Linked DNA regions of Homo sapiens: regions 2, 3 and 4 are each linked to region 1. The links are contacts of gene promoters, found by promoter capture Hi-C in blood cells and fetal thymus (Javierre and others, 2016). All regions are on one chromosome and are shown on one strand. The core of a region is centred on a gene start or on the middle of the fragment in contact, and the rest is flanking DNA. Distances in the headings are between cores, read along the strand shown. Region 1 holds the start of TIPARP (TCDD inducible poly(ADP-ribose) polymerase). Region 2 overlaps LEKR1 (leucine, glutamate and lysine rich 1). Region 3 overlaps LEKR1 (leucine, glutamate and lysine rich 1). Region 4 overlaps LEKR1 (leucine, glutamate and lysine rich 1).

Evidence for each region. The method cuts DNA at HindIII sites, captures the fragments that hold promoters and counts their contacts. A CHiCAGO score of 5 or more calls a contact.
Region 2: a fragment that was not itself captured here is called in contact with the fragment with the promoter of TIPARP in region 1 in 1 of 17 cell types (naive B cells); the score reaches 5.3 in naive B cells.
Region 3: a contact is called between a fragment that was not itself captured here and the fragment with the promoter of TIPARP in region 1, in 1 of 17 cell types (non-activated CD4 T cells). The highest score is 5.8, in non-activated CD4 T cells.
Region 4: a fragment that was not itself captured here is called in contact with the fragment with the promoter of TIPARP in region 1 in 8 of 17 cell types (non-activated CD4 T cells, activated CD4 T cells, naive CD8 T cells and 5 more); the score reaches 8.7 in non-activated CD4 T cells.

What each region holds. Positions count from the first base shown.
Region 1 is chr3:156,673,036-156,676,402 of GRCh38, reverse strand. TIPARP (TCDD inducible poly(ADP-ribose) polymerase) reads right to left here and starts at 1,813. Exons shown (of 6, transcript NM_015508.5): 1 at 1,607-1,813. TIPARP-AS1 (TIPARP antisense RNA 1) reads left to right here and starts at 690. Exons shown (of 1, transcript NR_027954.1): 1 at 690-3,232. RefSeq lists silencers at 728-1,087, 1,458-1,527, 1,558-1,607 and an enhancer at 2,018-2,317. The HindIII fragment of the contact is 8,735 bases long and covers 160-3,367 here.
Region 2 is chr3:156,885,602-156,888,968 of GRCh38, reverse strand. All of the region lies in intron 3 of LEKR1 (leucine, glutamate and lysine rich 1), which reads right to left. Among named protein-coding and RNA genes, the nearest start is that of LEKR1, 61 kb to the right of the region's middle. The HindIII fragment of the contact is 2,994 bases long and covers 23-3,016 here.
Region 3 is chr3:156,854,466-156,857,832 of GRCh38, reverse strand. All of the region lies in intron 3 of LEKR1 (leucine, glutamate and lysine rich 1), which reads right to left. Among named protein-coding and RNA genes, the nearest start is that of LEKR1, 30 kb to the right of the region's middle. The HindIII fragment of the contact is 4,326 bases long and covers 1-3,367 here.
Region 4 is chr3:156,834,668-156,838,034 of GRCh38, reverse strand. The region is part of intron 2 of LEKR1 (leucine, glutamate and lysine rich 1); the gene reads right to left. Among named protein-coding and RNA genes, the nearest start is that of LEKR1, 10 kb to the right of the region's middle. The HindIII fragment of the contact is 183 bases long and covers 1,439-1,621 here.

The DNA.
Region 1 (3,367 bases), core at 564-3,063:
AATTGGAGAGTCATAAATCTATGTGTAAGAAGTCCATCAAATTCAGAAAAGTAAAATACAAAGCAGTTTATAACGAAGTATTAAATTTACATGATAAGTACAAAAGGAAAAGGCAGAAAAAGGAGAGTTCACTGTAAGCTGGCATTGTTAGGGAAAGCTTCACGAAGAAGGAGGGATCTGACATGAGACATAAATCAACTGGAAAGGAGCCAAGCCAGGCGTTATTATTCATCATTTGGTGTTATTGCCTCAAGGCACAATTGGCACAGATTGTGGTATTCCCTCTCCACCATACCAAACCGGCCTGTGCTTTCCCCACGCGCACACTCTCTAACCACTCCTATCAAACCCAATCAAGGTAAAATAGACACTAAATCGATTTTATTTATATGTGTGTCTGCGCGTACACACGCAAGCGCGCGCGCGCAACTTTTCCTATTATTGCCCTTTCATCAAACTCGGAAACAAAACTGGGAGGAAGAAGCAGAGAACTGGAGAAGTGGCTGGAGGGGGAAAGCCACTAGAACCTAGCTCCTCAATTAGTTTTCATAACAGAAAAATAAAGATGAGAAGAACACATCCTCCGGTCTCCAGCGGCAGGCGACACACCGCGACACCCCTCACCTCGTGACGCTGGGGTTCTGCGGCACTCCCGGCCAAAAGCACTTTCCGAAAAAACTGCCGCTCCAAAGCCTGCCCGCCCGCCGCCGCGCGACACCCCGGCGCCGAGCCCGGGTCCGAGTGACGCCTCCTGTTGGCCGCGGCGGTTTGCTCAGCTCCTGGTCCCGGGCCGCGCCAACTCCGCGCAGTGCAGCTGAGGCGCCGCCCGGCTCTGCAATTCCGGGTGTTCCCGGGCGTCCCCGCCCCCGCCTTCCCCTCAGCAGGCGCCTGGGCGCCCCCCAACTCCTGTCCAGCCTCCTTCGGACCAACGACCCGCCCCGGCCTCCCTGCATCCCAGAGACTACTCGCGGCGCCTTCTCTCTCTAATTCTTCTTTACCCCCTCAGCTCACCTCCCGAGGAGCGTCCAACGGGTCTTGGGGGCTCGCAGAACTGAGCCGCGAAGCGCGGGGGAAAGGCGGCGAGCGCTTCCCGCGGCGGCGGGGAGGAAGACGAAGACTTGTGCGCTCTCAAAGTTAATGTGAAAACATCTTCCAAACTTCTGGGCTGCAGCCCGAAACGCGGGGTAGCCGGAAGGCTCCCGTAGCTGCCGTGCCCTCCCCCCCGGGGTCTGGGAAGGGCTCCTAGGCGCCTCAGAGCACCCGGGGTCGGCCCGCGGGGGAGGCCGCATAGACGCGCCCCCACCCTGACGAACGGGGAAGGGGCAGGCGCCTGCGACCCCAACTAAATCCTTCGGCGCCTCGGTCTGATGTATACACCTGCCACAGGCTCTAAGTGCCTAAGAAGTGTAAACCAATTCCATCTTCATGCTGACGGGACCCGAGTGAATTCGGTACAAAGGGCAGTCTCAAAATCAATCACCCCGATCCGCGAGAGCCCCGCACACTGCCGGCGCGGGGCCGGGGCCGGGGCCGGAGCCGCGAGGCCGGCGCTCGCACTCCCCGCTAGGGTTCTTCAGCCCCTCAGTGCCCTCCCGGAGCCCTTTACCTGAACGGGAGCCTGAGAGAACGGACGACAGGAGCCGAGTGGAAAGCAGTGCCCGCGCCGGAGATCAGCGCCGAGGGCGGGAGCCGACGTCTAGGGACCACAGAGCCGCGACGCGGCGAGCCGCGCACGGGCCATTCCGCCGCCGCGAACGCAGAAAGCCTCGACCGCGCTCCGAGTCCAGCCAGCTCGCCTGTCACCTCGATCTCTGCTTTAAGTGGCTTCCGGTCGCCTCCTCCCGACGGCCCGTCGCGGAGGCGGAGCCTGGGCGGCCGGAGTTCGGTGGGGTGGGGTGAGGAGGCCGGGCGCTCAGTGGGTGTCGGGAAGAAGACCCGCCCCCTGCGCGCGCGTGCGCGTTCGTTCGAGGGGAGGCGCGCGAGTTCTGTGCGGTGGACTTATGCTCCCGCGAGGGGGCGTGTCCTTTCTCGCGTCCGCAGTGTCCCTGAGGGTCCGCGTCTACACGCGGCTGTGAGGAAGGAAGGCGCGTGCCGCGTGGGACGGGCTCCACCTGCCTGCGGACAGATGGAGGGTCACTTTGTTCCGAGAAGACCCAGACACCCGAGGGAGGATGTGAAACGGAACGACCCGTTTCGGTGCGGTTGGCTTTGTTTATTTGCCTACTCCCCAGACGCCTCCAGCCTCTGATTCCGGCACACCCTGTGAGGAAGCAAACGGCTGCCTCCCCCACTGCCACCAGACGAGGTCGCCTGCCCCGAGCCGGACAGGCTGGACAGGCTGCGCACCTGCGGCGGCCGACTATTTCGTGGGCCTTGTACGCCACCTTGCAGAAGGGAAGCTGTGAGGTTTTGGCGATAGAAGCGCATTTACTTGTGTTTTAAAGCCCACAAACGCCGTAGTGACTAACTTATTCATTCAGCAAATGTCTGTCAGAGCGTCTATTACGTACCAGGCATGTAGCCTGAACTTCACGCCTGTCCTCATGGAGCTTGCAGAGCACCTCTGAAATACACACCACATACGGAATGGCCATATTTTCTGGGTTGTAAAATACTTTGAATTGTAACTCCATATATTGAATAGATTTTCAGTAGTGAGGGAAGAAACAATACATTTAGTTCATATAATCCATATGTACGAAAAAGAAGTGCTGGTAATTCCAGACATGGAAGTCAGTAAAACTAGGAGCTAAGAGGTAATAATCATAGACATTATGATTCTAAGCCTTTGTTAAACGGTTCTAAACCAGACTGGGTAAGCGCACCAGCAATGAATAGATTAAGGGTGTTATCTCCTTAGCAGCTTATTTCAAATTGCATCAAGGCAGGGCCATTAAACTAAGGTGAGAATGATATGGGCGGAATTCAGAGGACAATAGGTAAAAGATGAAAATCTTTACATTTAAAATCTTATTGAGACAAGATCTTGGTCAGTGTCTACTCATACATAGAATTGCCTAGAAGCTAATATTTGAGTTTACCATATTACTGTTGGCTTTCTATTTTTCTCATTTGTTCTGTTTCTTTTCTGTCCTTTTGTGCCTTCTTGTAGATTATTAATTCCACTCCCTTGTAACAATTAGGTTGTTATACATTCTTTATGCTTTTAGTAGTATTTCAGTTATTTATTGCTGTGTTCAAACCACCCCCAAAATATAATGACTTAAAACAATGGCTCTTTTATTTACTCATGATTCTGAATTCTCTGGCACAGGAATTCAGTCAGGGCATAGTACAGGTGGCTCATTTCTGCTCCATGATGTCTGGGGCTTCAATTAGCGTGGGCATACTGGGGCCTGGCTGGAAT
Region 2 (3,367 bases), core at 270-2,769, 210 kb before region 1:
AGCATTTACTAGAAAATAAGCTTTCCTTTTTAGAAAATAAGAGCTACAAAACAGGTTATGCTTAAGTTAATTTTTCAAAGACATTAACAAAGTATGTTTTGTTTTTCAGCTCATATTCTAATTTGCTTTTCACTGAGTTTTAAAAAAGACACAAAGACAGGCTTGTGTTTGGAATGTGATTCTGGTGAGAAGAACCTGAGAACACTGGACAAAGTCTGACATAGAAGGATGATGATGACAAGTATTCAAAGAAAATGCTGCTTTTAACAGAAAACTTGAAAAATAAAGACAGGCTAAACGCAAAAGGTTAGAGAAAGAGAAGACAAACAAACACAAGCAAAATAAAAGGAGCTAGAGAACATGGCATGCTTAATTAGCTCTCTCTTTCTTCATATAAGCAGCTCCCAAATCTAACCAGGCCCTTTCAGTCTTTTTATGTGTTTCTCCCACTGTGCCTCTCCAAAATCTTCTGGCTTAGTATCATAATAAATCCATTGACTTCATTTCAAAAAAATATTTATTTTGCAAAAACAAAGTTATTAAGAAAAGCTAAGGAAAACAAATCACAGACCTATGTATGGCTCAGTGACAGAATGTTGTAGATCTGGCATTCGTTCTTTCAGCTGGCAATGTTCTACTTCCAGTCTAAGCATGAGTCTGAAGTATATTTTGCTGTTAAGATTGAACATAAACATTACGATTTATATCAACTGTGCATTTCCTTTTAAATAAAAGTGTTGACCAACTGCTTTACTTTACTTTTTTGTCTGTTCCCTAACCCAATCCTCTCCCCACTCCTACTCTGCTACCTTCTTTGAGCCCTCCTACGCAATCACATTCAACTGGATAGTGTCATTAAAGATACTAAAAAGCTACATGAACTAAGGCTACATATTAGACAACATTACATATTGAAAGGGTGATATTCTTTCCATTCTCTGATATATATCACTAGATTACCTCTATAATGATTTTATCTACATATTAATGATAAAATATAGATGGTCAACTATCTTGAGTTTGTCAAAATAGTAACAATGATATAAAACACATATAATTATTCAAATGATATATAGAGAGGTGAATATTCAAATATATTTCTCAAGATATACCATCTGGAAAAAAGAATGAATGAGTGAGCTAACCTAAATTTTTATAAAATGTTAATCAAATGGTTGGGGGAGGTGCAGAAAGATTACCCCAATCCCAGAACTGTAACACAAAAACTATGCTCAGTTTTAAATTTTTTGAGCGCTAATAAAAATGATTCTAAATTAGATTAACTATATGATTAAAATTCATATTACTATATGAATTCTTGTTTGATTGCTCTCTCTCCTGAGCAATTACCAGGGAACTTGCACCAATATGTACATCAGAATGTATAAATTAATCATTAAAATATTTTTCAAAAGAGTGTTCAGAATTCAAAGCATCATTCTGTTGGCCACACAAAACATCTACATAACAGTTCATAATATTTATGAACACGTTTCTAAATATGAAGTAACATATCCTGAAAAAACAATTCTACTTTTTACTAATGTAAAATTTGTAGCTCTTGTGCGCCCCACACTCTGCCTACCAGGCTCCAAGCCTAGGCTTTACAGCCACACTCACTGCCTCACTCCACACCTGCACTGTGCACCTCAAGGGCCCACCAAGAAGGCAGAGAGGTGACAAGAAAATCTCCAAAAGCAAATTCAAAAAATTGGGAGGAGCAACTGTTACACCAGAAACTCAGATATCAACATAAAAATACGGACAATCAAAAAACACAAAAAAGCAAGAAAACGTGACACCCGCAAAAGAAAATAATTCTCCAGGAACAGATCCCAATCAAAAAGAAAATTACAAAATCCCTAAAGGAATTCAAAATATTGATATTAAGGAAGCTCCATGTACTATAAGAGAATATTGAAAAACAGACATATAACATAAAATGGCAGGTAGGAGACACAGCTAATGTGTAGCTCCCACATGGATGGACAAAACAGCATGTGGAGACTCACACCATGATCTTTTGCTCCAAGAACTACTGCAAGAACATACCAGGAAGACACATATAATGATTCTAAATTAGATTAACTATATGATTAAAATTCACGTTACTATATGAATTCTTGTTTGATTGCACAGATCCTTTGAAGGAAGCAGCACGCTGCGACAAACTGCAAAACAGGTGAAAAACTGAGTTGCCAAAGTGTGAAGGGGAGAAAACCTACTTCCAAATACACATCCCCACTGGGGAATCTGAAAATCCAGGTCATGGGAGGTTTTAACCTCACCTAGAGATGAAATGGATTTAGGGAGTCCCACAAAAAAGTAGAAGTAGCAGTGGGAAGTGTCTTGCATGTACTCCCAGTCTCCTGCTTGAGCCCAGTGAAGCCATCCCTGACTGTATCTGACAGGGACCCTTGGGGAAGGCAGCCAGCAGAATTGGAGTGGGAAGCTCCCAGCTGAAATTGGTAGTGGTTCTGACTGGGTACAAATTTCCTTTAGCAGAGTCCAGGGGACAAGGGGGAGCTGCTATGGACACAAGCAAGTGCAGGAGAGCCCAGGAGGCGCCACTGATGGAGTGGGCATATGGGGAGGGGCAAGGTTTGAAAGCCATGCTTGGTTTTTCAGCAGAGTAGCTCACGGCCTGGGGTAAAGTCTGAGTGGGGCATAGCAGGAGTGAGAACAGCCTCTCCAACTGTGTGGGAGCTGGGTGAGGTCTCTCACTACTGGCTATCCCCCACTTCCCTGGCAAACTATATTATGCATCAGAGGCAGCCAAGATCCCCTCTGAAACATAGTATCATTGGCCTGAGAACCCCCCTCCCCCACAGTGGTTGCAGCAAGCCTCACCCATGAAGAGTCTGAACCCAGACCTGCCTAAAACTGCCCCAACCTGATGATATTTTCCTACAGCCCTGGTATCTGAACACAAAACACAGAAACTCTTGGGAGCTATGTGGCTCCACCCATAACCCGAGAAACCAAAATACTTAACTTAGCCATCTTAGGGCAAGCTTACAGCCCCCTACTACTACCACAGCTGGTGCTCTCTTGATAGCACCACTGCCTGGCTGTAGGCCAACCAACTTAAGCCATTACAGAAACTCACAACAGAATAACCCTGATCCCAGGAAAGGGAAGGCAATCTAATTCCACTGCCTGCAACATCCTGACCATCCAGAGGTCCTGAGTGTATCCATGTGACAGCTTCACTGCTAGCATAACCAGCATTTAAGAAAGCCAGCACACTAAACACATCTAGAATCACGAACTCTCATAGGGTCTACTTTACTTCTCCGCCATCTCTACCAGAGGAGGTGCTAGTATCCATGGCTGGGAGTCCTGAAGATGGATCACATCACAGGAC
Region 3 (3,367 bases), core at 574-3,073, 180 kb before region 1:
AACCTCACCTGTGAACACAGACGCAAATAGCTATGTAAAATATTAGCAGCATTATTTCAAAAGAACAATGCTCTTCATAAACTATTTCACATATCACCATTAGCATGGGCAATTTTGTTAGTGTTACAGAAACAAAACACTTTGATTTTAATAAAGAAATTATCCAAAATCCAAAACTTCTTGAGTGTCAACATAATTTTCAAAGGAAACATTCATTAGTGCATTTCACATTTTGGATTTTCAGATTAGATGCTCAACTGGTATGTATTTTGAAAATATTTCAAAATCCAAAACACTTCTGGACCAAAGTACTTTTATCCAATGCTTTTATCCAAAGATAAAAGTTACTCAACCTGTAGCTATATACTTATTTTTTAAATCTTCTATTTATGGCAAGTGATAAGTGTTTTTCCACTTACTATATGCATAGAAATACATATATTTAAGGGATAATTCACAGAAAAATAGAATAGTGCAGAGTACTTATAGCAGTGGCAAGAATCATGAAGAAGGCAAGCAAATACATGAGACTTTGGGAACCCTGAAATACGTAACATGATCAAAATGGCTTTCTATCAAAAATGTAAGTTTAGCTTCATATTAGAAAATCCATTAGTATGATTTACTATATTAACAGATTAAAGGAAAACAAATCATATGATCATCTCAATAGAAGATAGAAAAGCATTTATTAAAATTCAATAGTCATCTGATTTTAAATAAACTTAAAGAACTAGAAATAAAAGGAAGAATTCCTTAAATTGATAAAAGGTATCTTTAAGAAACCTATAGCAGATGTCCTTTTAAAAACAGAAACATACTAGGCAGGATTGCATTACATTAGAAATAAATATAAAGATGCATTCTACAAGTTTATTATTCAACACTGTTCTACAGGTCCAATCTAATTTAATAAGACAAGAAAAAGGAGGAAAAGGGTATAACTATTGGAAATAAAAAGATGACAGGCACTATTTGCATATGATGTGACTGTTTTACAGGTATGTGTGTGTTATAAACATATATAACAAATATTCAAGAAAATTAAAAAATTCAAACAACTAATAAAAGAATTCAATGAGGAAGCTAGCTACAGAAATAAATAGCATTCAAAAAAATGTAATAAAAAGACATCTTTCCCAAAAGCAACAAAAATATGTCCAAGGATTAAACTAATACACGATGTATTTAAAAATTATAAAATTGTATTGAAGGATTTAAAGAACATCTGAATAAATGGGGAATCCATGTTCCTGGATAAGAAGCCTTAAGATTATAAAGATGTCAATTATCGAGATAATATAACTGCTCTAGAAAGTAAATGCAATCCCAGTCTAAATCATAACACAGCATGTTTTATGGAATCGGAAAAGCTGATTCTAGAGTTCGTCCAGAAAAGAAAATATACTAAAAAGCCAGGGTAACCTGAAAGGCAAACCAAACACTTGTCCTACAAAATATCAAAAACATATTATAAAGCTAAAGTAGTTAAAAGTGTGGCCCTGACTCAATGATAGACAATAAATCAATAACACAAAACAGACCGTCCAGAAATACGCTAGAAGAAAAATTAATAGGTGGCATTTCAAGTCAAGGGAGAGAGGATGAAGAATTTAATAAGTGATATTGGGCCAACAGCCAGACATCTGAGAAACAACAAACATGAAATTGGAAATCTACCTCAAATTATATACAAAATTAATACTAAATAGATTAAAAAGCTAATTCTAATACTATAAGTTTTAAACATATGTTGTTGTTTCTACTTGCGTGAGTCTATTCCCTCTTCTTCTGATAACAGTACTCTAACTTCTCTTTAGTGAATACCTTTGCTTTCATTGTATGAAGTCTTCATAGACCTATCAATCAAGGTTCCCCCCTTCATCAGGCTAAGGGGGTGGAATTGGAGGGTGGTCACATAAAAGAAGTAAAGCCAGTGAGACTCTTCTGGGATTTGAATCTTGAAGGGAATGATGCAAGGAAAAAAAAGTTGAGTGAATTTACCCCAGATTTCCCAGATCCCTGAACAAGCTCTGTTTCTAGTCCATTTCCAAAGCCAGGGTTCTTGAGTTTTTCCTTTCTTTCAATGAGCTATCACCTCATACTCTTCCAATAAATTCTCTTTTGTGTTTAGGTTCGTGTCAGATAAGTTTCCATTGTTTGCAACTAAAAGAACTTGACACAAAACTCTTAACCAACCAGAACCTGGCACAGGATATTATTAAAATTTTTAAAAGATACAGCAAAAAAATACAATGAAGTGAAAGGACAAGCAACCATGAGAAAATATTAACAACATATATAAACACAGTATAATGCCAATATTATATTAAAAGCACCTACAAATAAACAAAAATAAGCAAATAACCCAATAACATGGTCAATATATGTGTATAGGTAATCAATATAAATGTCTAATACACAAACAAATGTTCAGCTTCATTGGCAAAAAACAAATACTAATTAAATAACCACGAGGTAACATTTTTCACTCAAGAGATTGAAAAAAATTAAGAAAAACCTAATATTAACAAAATGTAGGAAAGTGGTCACTTCATCAACTATTGGCCAAATGTAAGTTAATGCTAATTTCTCAAGGGACTACTTGGTATAATACCCATCAAAATTTTAAACTGGCATTTGCTTTCTTTCAGTAGTTCCACTTCTAGAAATTTATCCTTTGGAACAACATATGTTCACAAGAACATAAATACAAATACTACATGTAATAACAAAAATTGGAAATAATATAAATGTTGAAAAGAAAATTGATTAAGTAAATTATAGCATATTCTTGGTAACAAAAATGTTGGTGTAGTTAAGAACAAGGTAGATCTACATACATTAACATGGAACAATTTCCAATATATATAGTTAAGTGGCAAATGTCAGCAGCACAACAATATGTTTGATATACTGCTAATGTTAAAACTAGTCTATTAAAAGATAAAGATATAAACTACATATATTAAGAAAATAAGGCTGGGCACGTGGCTCATGCCTATAATCCCAGCACTTTGGGAGGCCAAGGCAGGCAGATTACTTGAGCCCAGGAGTTCGAGACCAACATAGGCAACATAGCAAAACAGCATCTCTAGAAAAAAAAAAACTACAAAATACAAAAATTAGCCAGGCATGGTGGTGTGCACCTGTGGTCCCAGCTACTCGGGAGGCTAAGGTGACAGGATAGCTTGAGTCCGGAAGGTCAAGGCTACAGTGAGCCGTGTATAGTGCCATTTCACACCAGCCTGGGCAACAGAGAAAGACCCTGTCTCAAAAAAAAAAAAGGAAAGAAAGAAAAGAGAAAAGAAAATACATTTGTAATAAAGGTAAAGGTACAATAAAGGATCTACCAAGACATACACCA
Region 4 (3,367 bases), core at 281-2,780, 160 kb before region 1:
GTATTTTCCTCTGCCTGGAATAAAAAACGTCATTTTGGATCCCCCATGTAGCCTGGCTACATCTTGCAAAATGAGGTTTTTGACTATGATTCCATGAAACAGAAAGAGATGATTTTCTTTTGTAATGCAGCATGGCCCCCACAGCTATGGTACAGCAAGCAGCATCACCAAAGCTGCTGAGAGATAAGGAACCTGGAAAGCTAGCATGCCGGCAAAAGGGTAAGAATTTCCTACCAGCCAGGCTTCTGGCCCCTTTCTGCGCAAACTGATGGTAAAAATCACTGTCTCCTTTGCAAAGTCTGATTAATGGGAAAAAGGATTTGTGTGATTAGTCTGAGGCTGTAGCAAATCTAGTGCACTTTGTGCTATGAATATTCACATTGTTTCACTCCTTTCCTCTCAGTTTTTATCTTTATGTGTCTTCTGTCATGGAGAGGGGCACCGTAGGATAGAACAAGGGCCTAGGATCCCTATAAGCCCAATGCTCAAGCTGGCCCTGTGGGCTGGTCAGTTACAAACTTTGCTGCACGTCCCTGAAACAAAAACTGGACGAGATTTCCTTCTCATCTTGTTTTACGTCCTTGGGAGCTTGACTCTGTTGACCATGTGGAGGTACACTCTCAGTCTCCACCATCCAAAGGGCAGGAATTTTTCAGTTCATGTCAGTATGAGAGGACCGGGTGTCTGAGATGAGTCAGCACACTCTTCATCCCAAATGTGTCATGCCTTTGGGTGAGTCTTGTCTTAAAAGATCCCATTTCTACAGGGCTCTTGTCATCTTTTGTTATCTTAAGCCCATTACAGAGAGTGAATTCTTGGGGACGATGGAGATATCTCCTCTATCCCCTCTCTAAGAATACCTCTTGCTTATATGATAAAATCCTGGAACATTAACATCTGGGCTTGTAAAAGACTCAGATTAAGTCACTACTGAAACTGAGTATACCATTTTTTTTAAAAGGAATTTTAGAAATCTTTTATTCTCCATAATTAAAGTTTTTAAAAAGGATGAATAATGTCCTAACTAGCTTCAGAAAATTCTCTTGAGCAGTTACAATCCTTTACAAGCTTGAAAATGACTGCCCCAGACTCCTTCCTGGAAGACTAATGGCAGCTGCCCCATGCTGTAGCTCAGTAGCTAAGACTACCCTTTTATAGTAGCAGTCTGGGCTCAATTGCTGGCTTTGGGAATGAGTCCTTTCTGGTTGGATACTTGTGGGACTTTTGCCATTTATTGATTCTTTTCTTCTCCATGGACAGCTTCTGATTTCCTGTCTTGAATTTTCTTTTCTCTGAGCTACCTCAGGGGCTATTCTACATATTGTAAAAATGCTTGCTGTCTCTTTGGAGACACCTCATGCATCCATCGATAAGTCATAATCTTAGATAAGACTTACTGGTTTCACTTAGGAGGAGACCTTTGAGGGGGAAAAAAGCTTAAAAGCCAGAGGCTGTTTGTCCTGGCTAGAGTATAGTAATAAAAGATTTAAAAGGATTTCTTTAACGAAGCTCTATGGTTAAAAGTTGGCTTAACTAAAAGTTGATATTTACACTATACATATATTTTAAAGGTCTTTATGCCTTTTCTCTTCTTGGATCTTGTTTTTTTTGAGAAAAAGCTTTTTTTTTCTTCTTGGTTGGCTGAATTGTTTCTCCATTTACTTCTTTTTGCCAGCCTGGGATTCCTTAGGAGAAACAGAGGAGGTACCACGGGCCCCATTTAGGGAAAAACCTGTTTTCCTCATGAAACCCACAAAATTGTAAGTAAACAAATCCTTCTCAAAATTTATGACTCTGCTCTGTTTTGCATTACATTATCCGACCTTTTTAACTTTTGAGGATATCAGAAATTACTTTGCTTTGGCTGGGCTTGGTGGCTTAGGCCTGTAAAACCAGCACTTTGGGAAGCCAAGGTGGGTGGGGTCACCTGAGGTCAGGAGTTCAAGGCCAGTCTTGAACATGACGAAAGCCCCTCTCTACTAAAAATACAAAAATCAGCCAGGCATGGTGGTACATGCCTGTAATCCCAGCTACTCAGAAGGCTGAGGCACAAGAATTGCTTGAACCCAGGAGGCGAAGGTTGCAGTGAGTCGAGATTGCACCACTGCACTCCAGCCTTGGTGACAGAGTGAGACTCATCTCAAAAAAAAAAAAAAAAAAAAAAAAAAAAAGTGAGACAGAGCAAGACTTGGGGGGAGGGAGAGAGGGAGGGAGCGAGGAAGGAAGGAAGGAAGGAAGGGAGGAAGGAATCGCTTTATGAGAGAGGCTTTACGAGAGAACTTTTAGCCTTGGTGTGTAATAGCTAGGTAAGAGATATACTCTTAGGGATGGCTAATGGCAGATGCTTACAATTGAGTTACTACAGGGTGATACTTGGTTCTTTGCACACCGAATAAGAAAACCATGTTCTTGGGGACCCGGAAAGTATGGATTGGGGAATGGACTGATTACAGATTGAGCTGATTGGCTTTGGGTTGCCCAGTAGCCTCAGTGAAAAATGTCCTTGCAATGAGATACACCATAAAATCACTATCTCGTCCTATAGCGTTTCTCTTTTGGGGGACCCAGGATTAGGCGTAAAAACGGAGCCCTTGATTTTTGGGGATCTGTTCTATCTTACAGCTCTGCCTGTCAGGCCCTGGAAGCTGCACGCTTTCTTGGCCCTGTTCCTTGAAGGGCTCCACCCTGAAGCCACAAATCCAATTTAGAAATTTACATATTTAAGAAAACCCCCATTGGTAAGGGTGCCTGCCTGTGTATATTAGAAACTATTATCATACAATGTTTTGGCTTAATGTCTCAGCTCTGTGCTTTTAAAATATAAGTTCTCTATCCTGTTTCACCTAGGAGCTGTCCCTTTAGAAATGCAAATTTAGAGTTGCCTAGCTGACAATTGTTTAGGGCAGGGAATAGGTAATCAAGAAACTGATAGTCTAAAATAGGAAATAGAAACTTAAAAACTGGCAAACAAAAAAATCTTACAACTACCAGATCCATTTCCTTCCATGTAATTATATGTGTTGTGTGTGGGATGTTTACATAAAGAACTCTAATTAACTGGTTTAGGGAAGAATGAGCCCTAAAATAAAATATTTTGTCAGAAAAATAGAAAATTTAATGCCTTTTAGTGTAGATGACTTTAGAAATCTTTGTTAAGTATAGTTTTAAAGATTATTGGTAAAATAAAAACATCTTCAAAATTTAGACATTTGGTCTACAGTAGGCAGACTGAATTCTGTCTTTGCTATACGTTTTAAGGTTATAAACTACTTCTATGATATTTTTGAAAATTGACTTGTCTATTCTTCAGTCATTAGATTTTAGGTAAGATCTGGGGACATATGGAGTTAGCCCTGTCCTCTGACTA